Linked DNA regions of Homo sapiens: all the other regions are linked to region 3. Evidence: promoter capture Hi-C in human tissues and cell types (Jung and others, 2019). All regions are on one chromosome and are shown on one strand. The core of a region is centred on a gene start or on the middle of the fragment in contact, and the rest is flanking DNA. Distances in the headings are between cores, read along the strand shown.

Region 1 (2,700 bases), core at 44-2,543, 200 kb before region 3:
CGGGGCAGGGACCATGGGGGCCCATGAGCAAGCAGGGCTGTGGGGAACTAGAACTGACCAGACCTCCCTTGGGGCCCCACTTGGCTCCAGGAAGATGCTCCTGCTAGCAGGACCAAGGAGAAGCAGAGTCCCCCAGGGATGGAAGTTAGAGGAGGTGACAGGCAGGGCTAGGCAGAGGGAAGGAAGGGGGTGCCTGGCTTAGGGCTGCTCCCTGGGGAGGCCTCTCTGCCCAGGGCAGCCTCCGTGAAGATGCCTGGGACCCAGCCCCTTGCTGAGCCTTGCTTCTCTTCCCTCTTGTAAGTTCCCACTCCAGGGGAAGTATGTCTTTCCCCAGCCCAGTGGACAACCCCAGTGAGTTCTGTCCTTGGCCTCTTTCAAGGGGAACCACCTCAAGTTAGCACTGTACAGACCCAGCCAAGCTGCTTACAATCAGCCCCAACACGCAGAAACGACTCTCAGCCCTCAGGAATGTGAACCTGCTTCACCACATTAGCAGCCAGTGAATTGTATTATAAAAATAATTAGAAAACAGCTAAAACTAGTAGGCTACAGAGTCCCTGGATTTGCTGGTCAAAGGCTTGGTTCTACAGCTCTCTGATGAGAAAAAAATGTTCCAAGCATAAACACTTGACAATAACCACTGCTGGAGAGGCCATGAGATAACAAACATCCTTCTTGTACACTGTAGAGTGTAGTCTTACCTAGTGCAATCCTTCCAGGGACAGTTTGGCAATATCTATTAAAATATAAAGTATGCAAACACCCTTTCATAGAAATTTATCCTAGATACGCCTTTGTATCAAGATAAATGCAGCTCCTTCCTCTGCGCCAGGGTTTCTCAATCTCCGCACTACTGACATTTGGACCAAAGAATTACGAGTTGTGGAAGGCATTGTTCTGGGCATTGTAGGATGCTGTGATGGTGAATTTCATGTGTTAACCTGACTGGGTGTGTCTGTGAGGGTGTTTCTGGATGAGATTAATATTTGAATTGGCAGACTGGTTGTTTTAGTCCATTTGGGCTGCTATAATAAAATACTAGACTGAGTGGTTTATAAACTACAGAAATGTGTTTTCATAGTCCTGGAGGCTAGAGAGTCCAAGATCAAGGAGCCGGCGGATTTGGCATGCGGAGAGGGCCCCTACCTCATAGAGAGCACCTTCTCACTGTGTCCCCACATAGTGGAAGGGGCAGGTGGTGGAGGGGGCAAGGTGGCTTTCTGAGGCCTCCTTTATTAGGGCACTGATCCCATTCCTGAGGCTCCTCCCCCATGACCTAATCATCTCCCTAATGCCCCCGTCTCCTAATACCATCACCTTGGGGTTGGCTTCAACATTGAATTTTGGGGGGACACAGACATTCAGACCACAGCACTGAGTGAAGCCGACAGTCCTCTACAAGGCGGACAGGCCTCATCTCTCAGTTCAAAAGCCTGAATGGAACAAAAATGCTGCTCCTCCCCTGAGTAAGAGGAAACTCCTCCTCCCTGAGGCCTTCAAACTGGGACATTGGCTTTTTCCTGTCTTTGGACTCAAAGTGAAACATCTCCTCCTCCTGGGTCTCGAGCCTGCCAGTCTCTGGCCTGGAACACACATCAGTGTCCCTGGGTCTTGCCTGCAGATCTTGGGACTCACCAGCCTCCATAGTTGCATGAGCCAAGTCCTTACAATAGATCTCTTTCTCTATAAATATCTGTAGTACTGGTTCTGTTTCTCTGGACAATCCCAACTAACACAGATGGTGAGCAGAATTCCTGGTATTCACTCACTAGATGCCAATAGCCACCCCCAGCCCCCACTTGCAACAACCAAAAATGTCTCCATACTGTCCTAGATGGCACTTGGGGGAAAATTTCCTGGGTGAGAGCCACCACTGTACACATGTTCCCAGGAGGGAAGATACAACTCCCTTGTCCAGGGCCCACATAGGGAGATCCTGCATCTTACCCTGAGTGAGGAAGATTGGGAGCTCCAATGGGCGTGGGGGCCAGATGGACAGAAGGCAGATGAGAAGTGACACAGAGAAAAGGCCGGGCCAGGCGCGGTGGCTCAAGCCTGTAATCCCAGCACTTTGGGAGGCCGAGGTGGGCGGATCATGAGGTCAGGAGATCGAGACCATCCTGGCTAATACGGTGAAATCCTGTCTCTACTAAAAATACAAAAAATTAGCCGGGCGTGGTGGTGGGCACCTGTAGTCCCAGCTACTCGGGAGGCTGAGGCAGGAGAATGGCGTGAACCCAGGAGGCAGAGCTTGCAGTGAGCCGAGATCACACCACTGCACTCCAGCCTGGGCAACATAGCGAGACTCCATCTCAAAAAAAGAAAAAAGAGAAGGGCAGCCACAGCAAAGCATGACTAGAACACTTCTGACACCCAGAGTTCTGGGGCGAACGCGATACCCACTGCACCTACAGAGAGCTATGCCAAGGCAGCCATAAAAAGGTACCCACTATAGAACTTCCTATGAGCAAAACTGGAAACCACCTCTGTGGCTGTCAGCAGGGACTGACTGGTCACCCTGCAGCGCAAGTGTGTTTCGGGGGGACACTCTGCAGCCATTCATAGAAAAGAGGGAGACCCTCCAGAGCAGTAAGCAAAACCTCCAGGTGCAAGACAACGTGTAGAGTATGGTGCCTTCTGGGCCAGGAGTGGTGGTTCACTCCTGTAATCCCAACACTTTGGGAGGCCGAGGTGGGTGGA
Region 2 (2,700 bases), core at 127-2,626, 220 kb before region 3:
AAATATGGGAAGTGAGACTGCACAAGGGCAGATCAGGTCTCAGAGAACCCAGGTCCAGCCTCGCCTGCTGGCCCAGCCTCAGCCTGGAGAGAAGCCTTGATCAAGATCAAGGTCTTGACCCCAAAGGTCAAGGTCATGTGGGGTGAAGCCAAGTTTAGAGGAGGGCCTGGACCCTGGGAGGTTCTCAGCGTCTTTCTGGTGGCCAGGCTCCTCGCTGCTACTGAGTCACCAGCAGGCTCTGGGGGCATTGGGTACTGTGCTGCCCCCCAGGAGAGGATATGGACACAGGCCTTCCAAGCCTGGGCAGAGAAGCCCAAAGTGGCCCTCCCACTCGGCCCTCCCAGCCCCTTCCTCACATTTCCTCCACCACCACATCCAAACACAGTGGCTTGGCCTCCCTGCTGTCACTCACAGGAAATCTCCTGCTATCCCTTCCCATTATGGAGCCCAAGAGCCACAACCAACCAAGGAAACCTGAATACAGTGATTTGTCCATTTCAAGGGAAACTGCTTTCTCCACCCACCCATTTATCATCCAAAAACTATTACAAGAAACCTACCCCCAGGGGAACCGTAGTCTCAGCCAGTTTTCATCAATACCAAAACTCAGACACACTCAGCTCACCTATTCTCTACAGCCCATGCCAACTGCCCCATGTGAGGGACCTGATCAGGCTGGGCTGGCCGAGGTGGGTGGTCCCCAAGATGTGCCAGGCTGAGGGCTTCGTAATGCATAGGCCACAGGGCCCCATTACCCTCATGCAGGCAGCTGGCAGGAAACAGGTGAAAAAACACTGTAGCAGCTCTCATTAGCAGAAAGACACAATGAGTCCAAGGGGCACCCATGGCTGGGGAAGAGGGGGTCAACACAGCCACCTGGGGGACTTCACATGAAGGAGTGAGCAAGAACCAACACCCCAGCAGGCTCCGAGCTCCTGCCAGCTCACCAGGTCTTAACCAGCTATGGAGATAATGACACTACTCCTCTTAAAAAAAGTATCTGAAACCAGATATTTGAAACTTACCTTCTTCTTAACGTCTAGAATAAAATGTTAAAAGTGAAGAAAAAGGGCCAGGCGCGGTGGCTCATGCCTGTAATCCCAGCACTTTGGGAGGCCCAGGCGCGCAGATCAGCTGAGGTCGGGAGTTCGAGACCAGCCCGACCAACATGGAGAAAACCTGTCTCTACTAAAAAACACAAAATTAGCCCGGCGTGGTGGCACATGACTGTAATCCTAGCTACTCGGGAGGCTGAGGCAGAATCACTTGAACCCAGGAGGCAGAGATTGCGGTGAGCCGAGATTGTACCATTGCACTCCAGCCTGGGCAACAAGAGCGAAACTCCGTCTCAAAAAAAAAAAAAGTGAAGAAAAAGAGTTAAGATTGGAAGGGAAGAACTTGATACTTCTGCAGTCTGAGGGCTGGGGTGTTTCTTAACAAAAGCAACGCTAAACCAAGGCCCAAGCCACACCTTTATGTCTTGGTAACAGGGAAGCTTCCACCTTGGAAAATTAGATGAAAATCAAGGATTCTAACAAGCCAAAAACACCAAACAACAGGAAGAACAAGAGGAGTGATGCATTTATACACACACACTAAATAACCCCAAGATTTAAAAGGTTAAGGGACACAACTCGTCACTTACAAAAGTGGCAAAAAGCATTTCAATAAAAATCCCTTTCTGGGCTGCAGCGGAAGGGTAGGTGGCACAGCCATGTGGAAAGCGATCTGCAACGTGTGCCAAGGGGCCTAATTCACCCAAGAACCCAGCCTGAGCATCAGAAGTCCAAAGAAGTGTGTACGAAGACTTTCGGCAAAGCCCACCCACAAGGATGTCCAACGCAACACTGGGAACACGTGAGCACCCTTCAAGACATGCATGAGGATTTTCTACATATTTGTGCTATAAAATTAAGTGAAAAAAAATCCCAAAACAGAAACAGATACGTAGTGTTGTTAACTACCCAATAAAGACAAAATACAGTCATGCATCACATAACAACACTTGGGTCAGTGATGGACTGCATGAAACAATGGTGTGTCCCATAGGATTATAATACCACAGTTTCTACCTTTAGATAACAAACACTTCCCATTGTGTCCCAATGGCCTGCAGTACTCAGTCCAGAACCATGCTGCGCGGGTCTGAGGACTAGGAGCCATAGGCTGCCCCACACAGCCTGGGCATGGGGCAGGCTCTACCATCTAGGTGTGTTCATATGGCAACAACATCACCTAACAATGCAGCTCTCAAAATGCATCCCTGGTGTTAAGCGATGCTTGACAATAAATAGAAAAAGACTAGAAGAAAGTGCACCAAAGTGTTAACAAAACTTGTTCTCTTCATGGAGAAATATTGGATGTTTTTCACTTCCTTCCTTCTGATATTCTATATTTTCAGAGAGAAGAAGCAACAATTGGTGTTAAATAAAAATAGAAGGCCACAAAAACCCCAATACATTAAAAGGGACACCTGCCAATGGGAAGCCTGAGGGGGCACCTTATGGGTGGAATTAAAGCTACTAACTACAAGAGCCTTTCAGGACAGATGAGGAGAGACTTTCCCGCCACCCACAGAGGACTCACTCTGGAGGGGTATCACCCACAAAATCAGCTGTTCCAGAGATCTGTCAAAAGACAAGGACCAAGGTCAAGTCTTCCATCAGGCTGAGGAGATAACCTGAAGCTGAGATCAGACAA
Region 3 (2,707 bases), core at 147-2,646:
GGTTGAAAAAAGGGATCCTATAATAATACCACTTAATACATGAAAAAGGATAAAAAATGCACTAACCATTAAGTGTATGTATGCCCATCCCTCAGATGCACAAATAAAATTAGCAAAAAAGCACATATAACTGCAAAATGAACTATTAAAAGTGATTTTTATTGTATCTCCTCCAGAATATGAAACAAGTAGATCAAAATTAGGAAAGATAAAGATTTGAAAAATACCAACAAGCAAGACTTAATTAAAGAGAATTTTGGTCCATACAACAAAATATAATTTTTCTTTTATATCTGTTGAACAAAGTTCATTGAGTAACTTGGCTTCAAGGAAAATCTTGATAAATTGTTAAAAGTTGAGACTTGATAGTCTGCATTTTCTGACAATACAATAAAATAAAAAACAGCTAAAACATACTTTAATAATTTGGGAATGAATAAACTCTCCTAAATAACTAAGATTCAAAGGGAAACATCAAAATGAACTTATGCATTTCATAAAGATGTACTTAAAGAAACTTTACAACCCTAAATGTATCCCGCATAAAACTTAAGAAAATAAGGGAAAGAACAACAAATTACATCAAAAAGTGGGAAAAAGAGAAAGTACCTAAAAAGAAAAAGAGAAAAAAATTAATATTAAAAGAGTAGGGAGTATTTTATTGGACATTTCAAAATGTCCAATGAAACAGATAAACCTTTCAGACGCTTGATTCTTTTTAAATAGAGAAAGAATGAATGATATATAAATATAATAACCGTAATGATAAAGGAGCTACTAGTCTGGATATGAAAGAGAACAAAATGGAAATGGAAACATGCAATTCTATGTAATATATTCTTTAAATCTTTAGCAAAATATATCATTATAATGAAACAGAAACGAAAATATAAACAGATCGGTACGTATAAAAGAGAGGAAACTAATTAAGATGTGCATCATTCACACTCCTCAGATCCCTCCTTAGTTCCCATAGTCATCCTCCCCCACAACCCCACAGTCCGCCCTCACTCCGCCCTCAGATCCACCACCAGACAGAGACCCCCAGTCCGTCCTCACTCCGCCTGCAGATCCACCACCAGAGACCCCTCAGTGCCCCCTCACTCCTCCCTCAGATCCACCATCAGAGATCGCTCCGACTTCCACTATTCCATCCACTGACCGACCCCATCACTGACCGGAAGGCTCAGGACAGACATCAGAGATTCTTCTTGCTCAGTCCACAGATGCTGCCATCCCTCTACTCACCTGCCCCTCACCCACGTCCTCTCAGGACAGTGGTCATTTGCCTCGGGAGGTGACTATAGTCGCAAGAACCAGAACAGGACCCACTTCCTTTTTCTCAATGCCTCCCAGGCCTAGAGGTACTTCTTACAGCGCTGCCTGGGTTTGCGCATGCTCAGCAGTCTTCATGGCCTGAAGGTTGCCAGTAATCAACATGGCGCTTTGCCAAACACGCTCCCGTTTCAGCGGCTTAGGCTGGGCGCCAGTATGGCGGCGCCCATGTAGACACTCTGGCCTGTGGGCGGCCATGTTGAGGTCATGTAGAGACTGAGAGGCTGAGGGTTGTCCAAAGGAAAGGAAGCAAGCAGAGGTGTGTCCCATCATACTAAGCCAGGACACAATCAAAGCCTATCACCTCAGGTTACAGTCTTTCTCCAATGCTTCTGTGGACACAACAACACTGTTAATCAACAGGAACTAATCAGCATTTATGTAACACCGCAAACGCAGCCGAATACACATTTTATTCGTGTCGATGGGACATTTAGCAAGATATGAAGTAACCTGGGTCATAAAACAAATCTCAGCAAATTTGAAACAACTGAAATCATACAGTTTGTTCTCTGAACACAATAGAATTAAACTAGAAATCAATAACAGGAAGATAAAAGGAAAATCTCCAAACACGTGAAAACACATGCTAAATAATCCATTGTTCAGAGAGAAAGTCTCAAATTTTTAAAATACATTGAAATGAATGAAAGTGAAAGTGAATGAATTTTTAAAATACATTGAAATGAATGACAGTGAAACACAACATATCAAAATTTGTGGGATGTGGCTAAATCAGTGGTGAGAGAAAAATGTATATACCACTAAGGGCTTACATTAGAAAAGAAAAAAATTTCAAAGCAATAACCAAGCTCCCTCACATACTAGAAAAAGAAGAGCAAAATAAACCGAAGGCAAGTGAAAGAAAGGAAATAATAAGGATAAGAAGATGACTCAATAAAATGTAAAAAGAAAAATAGAGAAAAACCGATTAAACAAAAGCTGGTTCTGTAAATGTTAATAAAATTGACAAATCTGTAGAGGAGACACAAAATATCAATATCCAGAATGAAACAGGAGATACCACTGTAGACCATGACGAAATCAAAAGAATAAAGAGAATACTACAAACAACTCTACAAACATAAATTTCACAACATAGATGAAATGCACTAATTCTTGAAAAAGCACAAATTCTCTCTTACATGAAATAGTTATGTTGAATAGCCCTAGAACTGAAGTCATAATTTGAAATATCTGAAAAAGAAATCTTAAGGCCTGGATAGCTAGATCAGAGAATTCTAACAAACATTTAAAGGTTAACACGAATTATATCCAGTCTCTTCCAGAATAAAAAAAGAATAGAAAGAAGACAATAGAAAGATATTCCAACTCATGAGGCCAGTGTTACTCTGATATCAGAGCTAAAGAC

What was found. Contacts are between HindIII fragments. The study calls those that stand out against the background at their distance.
Region 1: a contact is called between a fragment that was not itself captured here and the fragment with the promoter of ZNF484 in region 3, in 1 of the 25 tissues and cell types used here (dorsolateral prefrontal cortex).
Region 2: a contact is called between a fragment that was not itself captured here and the fragment with the promoter of ZNF484 in region 3, in 1 of the 25 tissues and cell types used here (spleen).

The regions. Positions count from the first base shown.
Region 1 is chr9:92,680,529-92,683,228 of GRCh38, forward strand. No RefSeq gene overlaps it. Among named protein-coding and RNA genes, the nearest start is that of IPPK, 12 kb to the left of the region's middle. The HindIII fragment of the contact is 6,651 bases long and covers 1-2,700 here.
Region 2 is chr9:92,661,174-92,663,873 of GRCh38, forward strand. All of the region lies in intron 1 of IPPK (inositol-pentakisphosphate 2-kinase), which reads right to left. Among named protein-coding and RNA genes, the nearest start is that of IPPK, 7.6 kb to the right of the region's middle. The HindIII fragment of the contact is 6,326 bases long and covers 1-2,700 here.
Region 3 is chr9:92,876,642-92,879,348 of GRCh38, forward strand. It overlaps ZNF484 (zinc finger protein 484), which reads right to left and starts at 1,397. Exons shown (of 5, transcript NM_031486.4): 1 at 1,249-1,397. RefSeq lists enhancers at 1,152-1,687, 1,201-1,640. The HindIII fragment of the contact is 22,413 bases long and covers 1-2,707 here.